Regions from separate parts of the Homo sapiens genome. Here region 2 is linked to region 1. The links are contacts of gene promoters, found by promoter capture Hi-C in blood cells and fetal thymus (Javierre and others, 2016). All regions are on one chromosome and are shown on one strand. The core of a region is centred on a gene start or on the middle of the fragment in contact, and the rest is flanking DNA. Distances in the headings are between cores, read along the strand shown. Region 1 holds the start of OR4S2 (olfactory receptor family 4 subfamily S member 2). Region 2 overlaps OR4C11 (olfactory receptor family 4 subfamily C member 11).

What was found. The method cuts DNA at HindIII sites, captures the fragments that hold promoters and counts their contacts. A CHiCAGO score of 5 or more calls a contact.
Region 2: a contact is called between a fragment that was not itself captured here and the fragment with the promoter of OR4S2 in region 1, in 1 of 17 cell types (neutrophils). The highest score is 5.8, in neutrophils.

Annotation. Positions count from the first base shown.
Region 1 is chr11:55,645,903-55,652,373 of GRCh38, forward strand. OR4S2 (olfactory receptor family 4 subfamily S member 2) reads left to right here and starts at 2,425. Exons shown (of 2, transcript NM_001004059.3): 1 at 2,425-2,648; 2 at 4,966-6,471. The coding sequence starts at 5,002. The coding sequence ends at 5,937. The HindIII fragment of the contact is 13,020 bases long and covers 1-6,471 here.
Region 2 is chr11:55,597,528-55,603,998 of GRCh38, forward strand. It overlaps OR4C11 (olfactory receptor family 4 subfamily C member 11), which reads right to left. Exons shown (of 4, transcript NM_001004700.3): 4 at 4,833-6,471. The coding sequence ends at 5,914. Among named protein-coding and RNA genes, the nearest start is that of OR4C11, 6.9 kb to the right of the region's middle. The HindIII fragment of the contact is 2,735 bases long and covers 2,609-5,343 here.

The DNA of each region.
Region 1 (6,471 bases), core at 1,175-3,674:
ATTACAAAAAAGTGTTCATATCTATTGGTCTCAAGAAAAATATGGCTTTCAAATCCCACTTATAAGTGAGAACATGCCTTATTTGGTTTTCTGTTCCTGTGTTAGTTTGCTAAGGATGATGGCCTTCAGCTCCATCCATGCCCCGTCAAAGAACATGATCTCATTCTTTTTTATGGCTGCAGAGTATTCCATTGTGTATATGTATCACATTTTGTTTATCCAGTCTATCATTGATGGATATTTAGGTTGATTCCATGTCTTTGTTATTGTGAACAGTGTTTCAATGAACATATGTGTGCATGTGTCTTTATAATAGAATGATTTATATTCCTCTGGGTAGATACCCAGTAATGGGATTGTTGGATGGAATGGGATTTCTGCCTTTAGATCTCTGAGGACTCACCACATTGTCCTCCACAACGGATGAACTAATTTACACTCCCATCAATGGGATTATCTTTAAGAATGCTACGGCAAGTGAAAGAAGCAAGTTACAAAAAACTACATATTGTATTATTATTTTTATGTAAAAAAAAGTCCAGAGATGCCAATCTGTAGTAATAGAAAGTAGATTAGTGTTTGCCTAGAGCTGGGGGTGATGGTGTGAGAGAGGAATGAGGAGTGATTGCTAATGAGAATGGGGTTTCTTTTTGAGGGGACAAAGATGTTGTAAACTTAGATTGTGTTGATGGTTGCCCAACCCTGCTTATGAAACATCAATTAATTAAACTGTACACTTTAAATTGATGAACTACATAGTATATGAATCATATCGCAATAAAGCTATTATAATAAATGAATGTTAAATCTATTGACCGTTGCTGTGTATGTACTATTCTTATATCTTTTATTAATTTACTATCATTTTCCTATCACATGACATGTAGCTGTCTTTTTTAATCCAAGTGATAATTCTCATCAGATATCCTTCCTTTGCACACATTTCTGTTATAAAATATGAACATTAATATTCCATTATTTATATATTATATTTAGCATTTGTTCCAAAACATATTTTTAAACATCTCCTAGATCTCAAAGTACATTTTGCAAAGTAGGAATAGAAGATATACTGACTCGCCCCACTACTCATCTAAATAACTGAGCAGCAGAATAGGGATCTCCAAAGATGTTCACATCTTAGTCCTCAGAACTTATCAATATATTTTGTTACATGATAAGGTGATTAAGATTGTAGATAAAAATTAAGTTTGCTAGTCAGTTGACCTTAAAACAAAGATGTTATCGTGCACTATCCATGTGGGCTCAACGTATTCACAAGGTTTATTTAAAATGGGAAAGTGAAGCAGAATAAGTTAAATTTGAAGATGCTACACTGCCTGCTTTGGAGATGAAGGAAAGGGGCCATAAGGAAGCTGGTAGATTCTAGAAGCTGGAACAGAATGAGTTTTCCCCTACAGACTTCGGAAGGATTCATCCTTTCCAATGCCTTGATTTTAGCCCAGTGAGCCTCATTTTGGACTTCTCACCTGCAGAACTGTGAAATACTGACTTTGTATTGATTTAAGCCACTAAGTTTGTGGTAATTCATTGCAGCAGCAACAGGAAACTAACACACTAGCTTAATCATGATGAATGTTTCCACAAACCTGGGCATAATTGCTCTTTTACTTCCTACTCTTTATTTTTCACTCATTTCTTCTGCTAACTCCAGATAGTGAAAATATAAGTAGGATCTCTTGGACATTTTGGATGTTGTTTGAAATAAAGAAAAAGGTAAGATAAGGTAAGAAGAGTAAAGTAAAAAAGTCAAGCATGGGGAAAGAAACTAATAGAAATAGGAAGAGAAAAAGCAAGATTATTATTAGTTTTCGTGAGTCAACCTTAAGAATTTACAATATAAAAGTAAATGAATTAAATTCAACACCATACTTATTCCAAGCATAGGCCAAACATGAACCTTATCCCAGCTATTTCTCCATAAATCAGCATAGAATCAATTAAGAAGAAAAGCAATGTTCCCAAATAGCACAATCGAATATACTATTTTCTATTACAATATAGCTTTCAAGAAAGAACAATTACAATTCAATAAATAACATAAAACAGATATCTTAATATGTTATATCAAATATGGACTATTTAATGCATATAGTAAAGCATATTAATTCAAAAACAAGGTTTAGAATGATAAAATTATTACTTCTCTTGGCTGAATTGCTTTGGATTAGGGCTATAGTCGTTAATATGAGAATTGATCGGTTTTTGTATTTAGCAACAATTTTTAAAATTTAATTTTAAAAAATTGAACAGACACTAGAATTAAAGTTCATTGGTAGGGCTGCAATTTGATTTTGACTATGGAGGAAGACTTTGGGGAAAAGCTGTCTCCAAGGTCATTTATCATTTTGCATCTTCCTCTTTAAATAGACCTGTAAGAATAGAGAAAACAGCATTTATTGTCAAAGACCCTGTGAAATGGCAGGTATCATTAGGTGAGAAAACCAGGAACAACAAAGACTCATTTCTACCAGCCTTTCAGTTTGGGGGGTCAGGTATTTTCCGGTACTAATTATTCACAAAGGAATTCCCTAGGCATCACTGTTACTTTACCTTGGGAAGCTGCACCCAAATTAACTCAAGAAGAGATAGAAACATAAAGTGAACTCAAGCTCTGGAAAATACTGGTGAGATTTTTTTTTCTTTTCAAACGAATACAGAATATTTGTGGAAAAAGATAATTAAATTGTTAGATTTTGAACATTTATAAAATAATGGAAAAATATTGTTCTCTGAAATACAGAGAGAATGAAATTATTAAAATCATGATAGTAAGATAGTAACATGTACCTAAACATGACTGTGAGGAAGGGTAGGATGGACACAAATAAGAAAATGTCAATAATTTCAAAGGAAAGTGAGTCATTATGCCCAACATGCCCAGATAAAGGAGGAAGGCATCCTTGTGATGGATATTGGCTTAAGGAGAGAAACAGCAAGATGTTACTGCATCAGTTGGAGTCAAGAGAGGCCATGATTCAGAAGGTTAACAGCCTTTACTAGGATGCACATTCTGATAAATGGAACTTTAGATCTCAATCCTGCAATTAAGATAAATGAATACCTGAATAAAATAGATTGGTGAATGAAAAAAAAAATTCCTCTAGAACCTTGTGATATGGACGGTAGGGGAAAAAATCCTCAGGCTTGTGTGCAAAAGCCCAGTTTCTTCTAGATGAGAGCAAAGCAACATAAATAATTGTTGCTCAAAACTGCTATGTTGTGAGCTTCCTTAAGTTGAGGGGCTCTCTTAGTGGAGGATGGTATTTTTCTTTTAATTCAGCAGGATAACTGAAGAGGAATGAGCATGTAAAAGCAGGGGATGTGCTTGAGACTGTATCTAAATCATATTACTATTACTCTTACAATCATTATTTTGTAATGCACAAGAGATAGCACACCTGTAATGACTACTGTGCCAACTCTAACATGAATACCTGAAGAAACACAATCCTATAGATTCCCAAAAGCTGGAAGTATTAGGCACGACTTCACTGCATAAGGATAGCTGAGAGCACAGAGTTTAGTAGGAGTTGTCAGCATTCAGCTGGATGGATCTTGAGAGGATCTACAGGTCTCTGCTAGACCACCTGTAATTGGAGGGATCATTTACACCTGCGGTTGATTAGCGAAAGAATCCTAAAAGCTCCTTTAATCAAAACTATTACAGATACCCTTTTCCATCCATGTACCAATGACCCCATTGTAGTGCCTGAAATTTCACCAATGAATATTCATCCATTTAGATAAATGTCATTTTCCTAAACCCATTAAAATTGTCATTCAGTGATGATCTCTTCCAGAAATATAAATCGACCAAATTGGGAGAATGAATATGGCCAGAATAAAACTTGAAAGATTAGAAAGATGTATGAAGCAATGTTGACATTAAGGGACAGTCTTCTCTTTTTTACACCCATTTTCTTCGTTTCAGTTAATAGAAAAATGTTTAAAAATACAAAGCAAAGTCAGTCCTGGAAAATCCTAAAGTATTCTGAGTTTGCACATGGAGAAATTACATAAGACTTCACTCCCTCTCCTTTCAAATCAAACAGGTCTTGCTTTGTCTCTAGAAGTTTCTTTTATTGCTTTACCTTATTTCTGCCTTCCTATCAGGGTTTTATGAATATTTCATACTGACAGAAGTGATTTAAGTTCACGGCTGAAATAACTATTAATGTGATATGTAACAGTGAAATTGAAACTGTCATTTCACAAATGGGATAAGAGAATTTCTGTTAAGTTAAATAATTTACCTTGGGGGTTACAGTAGTATCATTTTAGAATCAATTTTGTGTAATTTTGCTCCTCTTTCTATTACCTCACACTACATCTTGACTATCAGGGCTCGAGACCACACTGGTGGAGGTGCATACATCATGTGCACAAAGATAGAGTTTCATGAGAAGAACTTGCAAAGGCAAGAGTGGTTAAACTTGCAGAGAAATTGCAGAATATTTGTGAGTTGATGTGATAATCAGGCATGGCAGTATTCAAAAGGTGAAATGTGGGCGTATGTTTTCACTTATGGGTCAAAAATAAAGCAATCATTTCCAGATATTTGCCAGTAGATAACATAGATGTTACCATATCCCAAAATACAGAAGTTGTTTCAAAACTCAGTGTCGTATAAAAAATAAAAACTAAATAAAGTTTAGAAACAGCTAAATAAACATTAATAAAAGGTGAGAGAAGAGAGGCATGTGGTAACATATATATGAGATTGAGGGGATTTACTTTATCTCTCTGGATTTTGCTTTCTCACCTGAAGTGAACGAATGTGATCTTATCTTGAGGTAAGATGATCAAAATAGATGCATTTCAATTTCTTCAAGTATGCATGCCAATCAGCATTTTTTCCTCTTTTGATCTACTGTGATTTTCCGTTGGTTCTGCGTTAGAAATAAAATAAATACAGTCCTTTTTATGTTTTCTTTTTTTCAGGTAATTTAATTGTCTCCTAAGAACTTGACCCATTCCATGGAAAAAATAAACAACGTAACTGAATTCATTTTCTGGGGTCTTTCTCAGAGCCCAGAGATTGAGAAAGTTTGTTTTGTGGTGTTTTCTTTCTTCTACATAATCATTCTTCTGGGAAATCTCCTCATCATGCTGACAGTTTGCCTGAGCAACCTGTTTAAGTCACCCATGTATTTCTTTCTCAGCTTCTTGTCTTTTGTGGACATTTGTTACTCTTCAGTCACAGCTCCCAAGATGATTGTTGACCTGTTAGCAAAGGACAAAACCATCTCCTATGTGGGGTGCATGTTGCAACTGTTTGGAGTACATTTCTTTGGTTGCACTGAGATCTTCATCCTTACTGTAATGGCCTATGATCGTTATGTGGCTATCTGTAAACCCCTACATTATATGACCATCATGAACCGGGAGACATGCAATAAAATGTTATTAGGGACGTGGGTAGGTGGGTTCTTACACTCCATTATCCAAGTGGCTCTGGTAGTCCAACTACCCTTTTGTGGACCCAATGAGATAGATCACTACTTTTGTGATGTTCACCCTGTGTTGAAACTTGCCTGCACAGAAACATACATTGTTGGTGTTGTTGTGACAGCCAACAGTGGTACCATTGCTCTGGGGAGTTTTGTTATCTTGCTAATCTCCTACAGCATCATCCTAGTTTCCCTGAGAAAGCAGTCAGCAGAAGGCAGGCGCAAAGCCCTCTCCACCTGTGGCTCCCACATTGCCATGGTCGTTATCTTTTTCGGCCCCTGTACTTTTATGTACATGCGCCCTGATACGACCTTTTCAGAGGATAAGATGGTGGCTGTATTTTACACCATTATCACTCCCATGTTAAATCCTCTGATTTATACACTGAGAAATGCAGAAGTAAAGAATGCAATGAAGAAACTGTGGGGCAGAAATGTTTTCTTGGAGGCTAAAGGGAAATAGTTGGACTTAATAATTTAAGCTAGATGACCTTAAAATTTCTCAGCCTTGGTTAACTCATCTGTGCAATCAAGACAATAACAACCTCATGGGATTTGGAGTGGAAAAATGAGACAATAACACATTCAAAAGAGTAAGGTATTATTTTTCATTATTATAGCATTTTTATACTATTTCATAATTAGATAACTTCCTGAAATATCTATGACACAGAAATATTATTAAACTTAGAATCACAAAAGTGCAGAAGAGCAATTCCTCTTGGCTTTCCTTTGAGGACAGATTTCTATTACCCTACCTTGCTATTCACTGGTTTTATCATCATCCCTGAAAGCAGAAACTCACCATATGTATAAAGTGGAGGAAATAAATTTTAAAAAATTTAGAATTTCCAAAAGTGTGGGAAGTGTTTTCATATTTTTGGGCTTAAATTGTGAGGTTTCGGGCAGTACAGTATCACTCATATATTTCCTTCTAAATAAACAATCCTCTACCCTGCTGCCTAGGCTATGTATAGAGTAGTGGGGAATTGATAAG
Region 2 (6,471 bases), core at 2,726-5,225, 47 kb before region 1:
CCTAATTGAATACCCTTTATTTCCTTCTCCTGCCTGATTGCCCTGGCCAGAACTTCCAACACTATGTTCAATAGGAGTTGTGAGAGAGGGCATCCCTGTCTTGTGCCAGTTTTCAAAGGGAATGCTTCCAGTTTTTGCCCATTCAGTATGATATTGGCTGTGGGTTTGTCATAGATAGCTCTTATTATTTTGAGATATGTCCCATCAATACCTAATTTATTGACAGTTTTTAGCATGAAGCATTGTTGAATTTTGTCAAAGGCCTTTTCTGCATCTATTGAGATAATCATGTGGTTTTTGTCTTTGGTTCTGTTTATATGCTGGATTAGGTTTATTGATTTGTGTCTGTTGAACGGGCCTTGCATCCTAGGGATGAAGCCCACTTGATCATGGTGGATAAGCTTTTTGATGTGCTGCTGGATTTTGTTTGCCAGTAGTTTATTGAGTATTTCTGCATCGATGTTCATCAGGGATATTGGTCTAAAATTCTCTTTTTTTGTTGTATCTCTGCCAGGCTTTGGTATCAGCAGTATGCTGGCCTCACAAAATGAGTTAGGGAGGATTCCCTCTTTTTCTATTGATTGGAATAGCTTCAGAAGGAATGGTACCAGCTCCTCCTTGTACCACTGGTAGAATTCGGCTGTGAATCCATCTTGTCCTGGACTTTTTTTGGTTGGTAGGCTATTAATTATTGCTGCAATTTCAGAGCCTGTTATTGGTCTATCCTAGCCAGTTGCGGGATAGAATCTGGTGTGAAGTTTGCTAAGCCTGTTGGAAAAGCGGAGTACTAGGGTGAGAGTAACCCAATTTTCCAGGTGCCATCTGTCACCTCTTTCTTTGCCTAGGAAAGGGAATTTCCAGACCCCTTGTGCTTCCCAGGTGAGGCGATGCTTCACCCTGCTTCGGCTCATGCTCAGTGTGCTGCACCCACTGTCCTGCACCCACTTTCCAACATTCCCCAGTGAGATGAACCCAGTACCTCAGTTGGAAATGCAGAAATCACACATCTTCTGCATCGCTCATGCTTGGAGCTGTAGACTGGAGCTGTTCCTATTCGGCCATCTTGGCTCCACCCCCCGTGAATGTTTTTTTAATTCTTGCTGTCTTCAGTATTCTTTGTCTTTGATAATTTGATGATGATTGTCTTGGTGAATTCCTCTTTCAGTTGAATTTGATTGGTGACAACTAACCTTCCTGCACGTGGATGATGTTGGCTTTCCCCAGATTTACAAAGTTTTATCTATTATTTTCTTAAATACGTTTTCTGGGTCTTTTGCTGTCTCTGCTTCATAAACTTTTTAAAGTATAAATAATAGTTTGTCAGATGATGTCCCATGATTCCTGTAGTCCTTCTTTATTTTTTTCATTCATTTTTTATTTTTGCTCTTCTAACTGGATAGTTTCAGATGTCTTATCTTTGAGTTCACTGATTTTTTTCTTTTTTTTCAAGACTGCTTTTGTAGCTTTCCATTGAATTTTTTTAATGTAGTTATTCTTTATCTCTAGGATTTTGATTTTCTTTTAAAATTGTTTCTATTTCTTTGTAAAATCTTTCATTTTGTTCATTGTTTTCCAAATTTTATTTAATTTTGTATTTATATTTTCTTAAAGTTCTCTGAACCTCTTTAAAAGGATTATTTTGAATTCTTTTGTCAGTTGTTTCACAGATCTGCACTTCTTCTGAGTCTATTATTGGAACTTTATTAGATCTTTTCATGATGTTATGTTTACTTGACTTTTCATAATCTTTGTGTTCTTAGATAGATACCAGTGCATTTGAGAAGATAACCTCCTCTTCTACCTTTGGTGGTGACAAACCTTTATTATTTGTCTATTCTGGGTTCTGGATGAGCTGGCTGGTAGCAACTCCAGACAGGCAGACCATGGTGTTGGGTTATCTAGTTGTGCTGGATAATGTTTTGTCTTCTGAGGTTAAATGATACTGATGGCTATGCTTCATGGACTGATGAGATCACTCTGACACAAAATGGAGCTGCTGGTTGGCAATACAAACATCTCTGATTAGGCAGGGTGACAGGATGTCTCTCCTAGCTGCACCATTGTTGTTTGGAATCTGCAGTTTTGCAGAGCTGTGTGCTGGAATCTGAAACAGGGTGAGGTCTATGGGCTTGCTGCTAGGCCACACAGGTATGGCAGGGCCTAAGACTACGCTTGATATGTTTTTACTTGGGCTTGCCTCCCAGCCTAGGGTAGTCTTAAGCAGAGTACTGAGGCTTGGTCCACTTATGATGCAGCTGCTGGGGTTTAATGGGGGCAGACGCTCCCTCCATGGATAACACTGACTTGCAGTTGGCTCCTGGGATGAGGAAGATGTGAAAATGTGGCTTTCCTCAGTTCTCTGGTCCAAAAGGGTTTCTCAGACTCACTCTCAAGTTCTGGAATGCTCATTATAGTATTTTTTTGCCTCTGGTTAGTTGCTAGTTGAATTTCTGTCAGCATCAGGGGAGTGAAGCTGGAGAACTCCTATTCTGCCATGCTGCTAACATTACTTTCCATGATCAACCTCTTTGTCTTTTCATTCTAATATTTTATTTACAATGTGTCTTTATAATGATATTTTTAGGTTCAACCTATTTGGAAAACTTTAAGCTTCTTCAATGTCAATTTTCATTTCCCTTTCTATGCAATGTATAAGAGTTCCTGTTGTCCCACATCCTTGTCAACATTTGGTGTTGTTATTATTTTGAATTCTGGTCATTATAATAGGGGTGTAGTTGTATCTCATTGTTTTAATTCACAATTCCTTAATAACACATAGTGTTAAGCATATTTTTATATGCTTATCTACCCATATATGTTCCTCTCTAATTTTACTTTGTTTTTACAACACTGCTTCTCAATGGTGTCTTCTAAAAGTGTGTGTATAACCATGGTAGAAAATAGATGGGAAGACAAGGGAAAAGGAGGTTAAAGAGGAAAGAAAATTTCATTAAGTATTCAGTAGTCCAATCAATTAACCAAAAATTGTTCTTGTGGGACCTCAATATAAATAGATTTTCAATCATCTGTCTCTTGCACCTTGTGTCAGCATTCAGGTGAAATGAAGAATAGAGAAGGAATCAGAAGAGTGAAAAGTAGAATACACTATTCCAGCTTATGTGCTAATAACTATATGTAAATGATAATCTAGAGTTTGTTCACCTCTTATCTCTCCTATTTTAAACCTCAGTTACATGCCAGAAACCAATTTAAATTGATATCCCTTTGCCCTACTTTATGATTACCCTCTTATATGTTCATATCAGAAGGATACTCCTCTCTTTCCTTTACATACGGACTATTTAAAGTTGAAGATGCAAATGTGCAGATACCGGAGCATGTTCCATAAAGACTCCCTCCTTTTATTTTAAAGTGATACCAATATGCTTAAAATTCTGTTATGTTTTTATTTAATCCTATTAAAACAAAACTTGACGGTATTATTTTCAGTTAAATTTTATTTCAAATTATAAATGACATTCTTTGAAAATAAAAGAAAAACGTTAATAAATATGGATGGTTTATAGTAATAAAAACATAGATTTAAATTAATTTTTTGAAAAATCTATTTTATTGTGAAAACGGTTCATATTAAATTTGTTATTTTTAAGCTCTTTATGAATATCATTTTCTTTAATTCTGATGACAAGCCAATTAAATATAAACTATTTTAACTTTTGATTTACAGATAAAAATTAGGCCTAAGATTTCATATATTTTTCTTAAAGTTACAAGGCTTTAAATTGGTAAAGCCAGGATTTGGATTTATGTAGTGTGACTCTAGAGTGCTTACTACTTTAATCATTATATTCCACCACCCATCTTAAAGTTAAAATAAGTGCAATTCATAATCACTGCATCAACTTCCTTATACTTTTTATATTTTTGGCCATTTGAAAAGATGTTTGAATTAAGATTTTTTTTTACCAACATAGGAGACATATAGAACTGAGTTAAAACCTTAATGCTGTTACTTCTCAGCAAGACAATCTCAAGGGACTAATTTGTTCAGTTCTCTCACCTTTAGATTTTTCACCTTGAAATTTAATTTTTCAATAGAAATACCAAACTTTGTATTATTTTAGTAGACACAAGTATAATAAAAACAAAGAATTTGGACACATTTAAACGCTACTTGTTCCTGAAATGAAGAGATAATCAGAATTCATACTTTTTCTTTTAGGTCAATCACTTTTGAGGGAGGATGGTCACTCCAAAGTTACCCATTGAATGGATATGGTGTTGCAGAACATTTAAAATATTTTATCTTTATTTTCCATTTCGATTTAACTAATAGTACTTCTACAATACACAAAACATTTCAATATTCTTCCCCATATAGCTTCCTCTTATTATATTTTCCAATCTTGATTTATTTATTTATATTTTAGTTTATTCGTTTTCTTTTTTTTCCTGTGCCTGTGCTTACCCATATACCTTTTTCCTAACTTTTAATGTTCAATTATTTATCTGCAATGCAAATCAACATAAAAGATTTTATATGGTATGTGTGTGCATATGTGTGTGTGTGTGTGTGTGTATGTACATTTGTTGTTGTAGTGAAGGATATTAGATAAGTTAATAATGGAATCATTACATTTCCATTGTCTATTAAATATATGGCCTTTCTCGTGTATGACATGTCAACTTTGGGACACTAGTGTGAACACTGGAAACATTACATCACAGAAAACAAAATGAAGTGAGCACATTAAAAAACATGTTATTTAATTGAATTTATTTTAAATTTATATTTGACAGGAGAAAATAATTTCAATTGGTAATATTTTTCATTAAATAATGATAAATAAGGTTAAAAATGAAATTGAATCTGTCAACAGTTATTAAAGATGTGGTACACTTATTACACTGAAACAGATGAATATTAAAAGTCCATAATATGAATATCTAAAGTGCCGCTTTTTATCTGCTGTCCTCACTCTGGGCATGAAAATTCCATTGCCAATTCTAACTTGTGATTCTATGCAGCCCCAATTATTAGGACAGAATAAATAGAGATGTAACTTCCTATAGCAGTAGTGGGTTCCCTGTTTAGGGAGAACCCACTAGAGACAAGTGTCCTGAGTGTTTTCTGAATTCCTGTGATAATTTTATTTATTTCATTGACATCACCCAACTTTAAACACAATAGATCATACCATTTTTGGTTTCAACCATGTTCTACCCTTCTGCACTTCAGGCTCAGGAAATATGTTGTATCTCCAGTATATTAGCCTCTGACTCAAAAATACAGAACTTTTTAAATACAAAGTAGTGATAAAATGTAAATGGGCATCTTGATATACTGAGTTAGTTCCTTTTCCCTAGAAGTGTTCAGGAGGAAGCTTGATACCTTATTGCAAATGCATTAGGGAAGGAATTTGACATTTCTTTGTTGGTGCTCACAAATTTGAACACTTGTGATTGTATAAATGTCTTTCTTTTTATTAAACCAGAGTGTAGACAGAGTTGTGATGTGTAGTTCACAACCAGCAATGGCAGAATTGGGCTCTTAGGAAAAGGAAGAGCCAAATTGAAGATTTCAGGGAGTTTATCAGTCTGTGGTCAAAAGCACAGGAAAGAAGTAAGAAAATCAGATGCATTAGATTAGAGTGCATAGAGATAGTCAGGCTTACACTTTAGAAAATGCATGGCTGGAAAGGAAGATAATCTGAAAAGAAAAGACTACTGGTAGGTAATCACCTGAATTAATCTATATTCTACCTAGTTCTGGCACAAAAGACAATGTCTTGGTAGTCACAACTCCTGTTAACTAGAAAACATAGGAACCCACAAACTTAGATACGATGATATATTATTCCCACAGCATTCAGGTACTTTCCTATTTGCTGTCTATACTTACTCTGTTAAATCATGATTTGACTGAAAAAGTAATCAGGTCAGGCCCTCAATTTATCCTTTGTTTTCTGAAATAATTTTGCCATGCCATAACTTTCTCATGGCATTTTTCACTTCTGCATTCCTCAGTGTGTAGATGAGTGGATTGAGAAAGGGTGTTCCAATAGTATAAAATACTGCCACCATCTTGTCCATGGGGAAAGTGGTCGGGGGGCGTGTATATATGAATATACATGGGCCAAAGAATAAGATGACTACAATTATGTGAGACGTGCAAGCGGAGAGAGCCTTTTTCTTCCCTTTGGCACTGTGGTTTCTCAGTGAATGCAAGATGACAATATATGAAATTATCAAAATCATGAAACTACTTGAGCAAATTGCCCCACTGTTAGACACCAACAGCAGGTTGATCATGTAAGTGTCCATGCAGGCAAGTTTCAACAAGGGCTGCAAATCACAGCAATAATGATCAATCAAATAGGGTCCACAGAAAGGCAATCTTAAGGCCAGGATAATCTGAGCTGTAGAGTGTATTAAAGACCCTATCCAGGCAAGAACAATCAGGATGATGCAGACCTGCTGGCTCATGATGGTTGGGTAACGCAAGGGCTT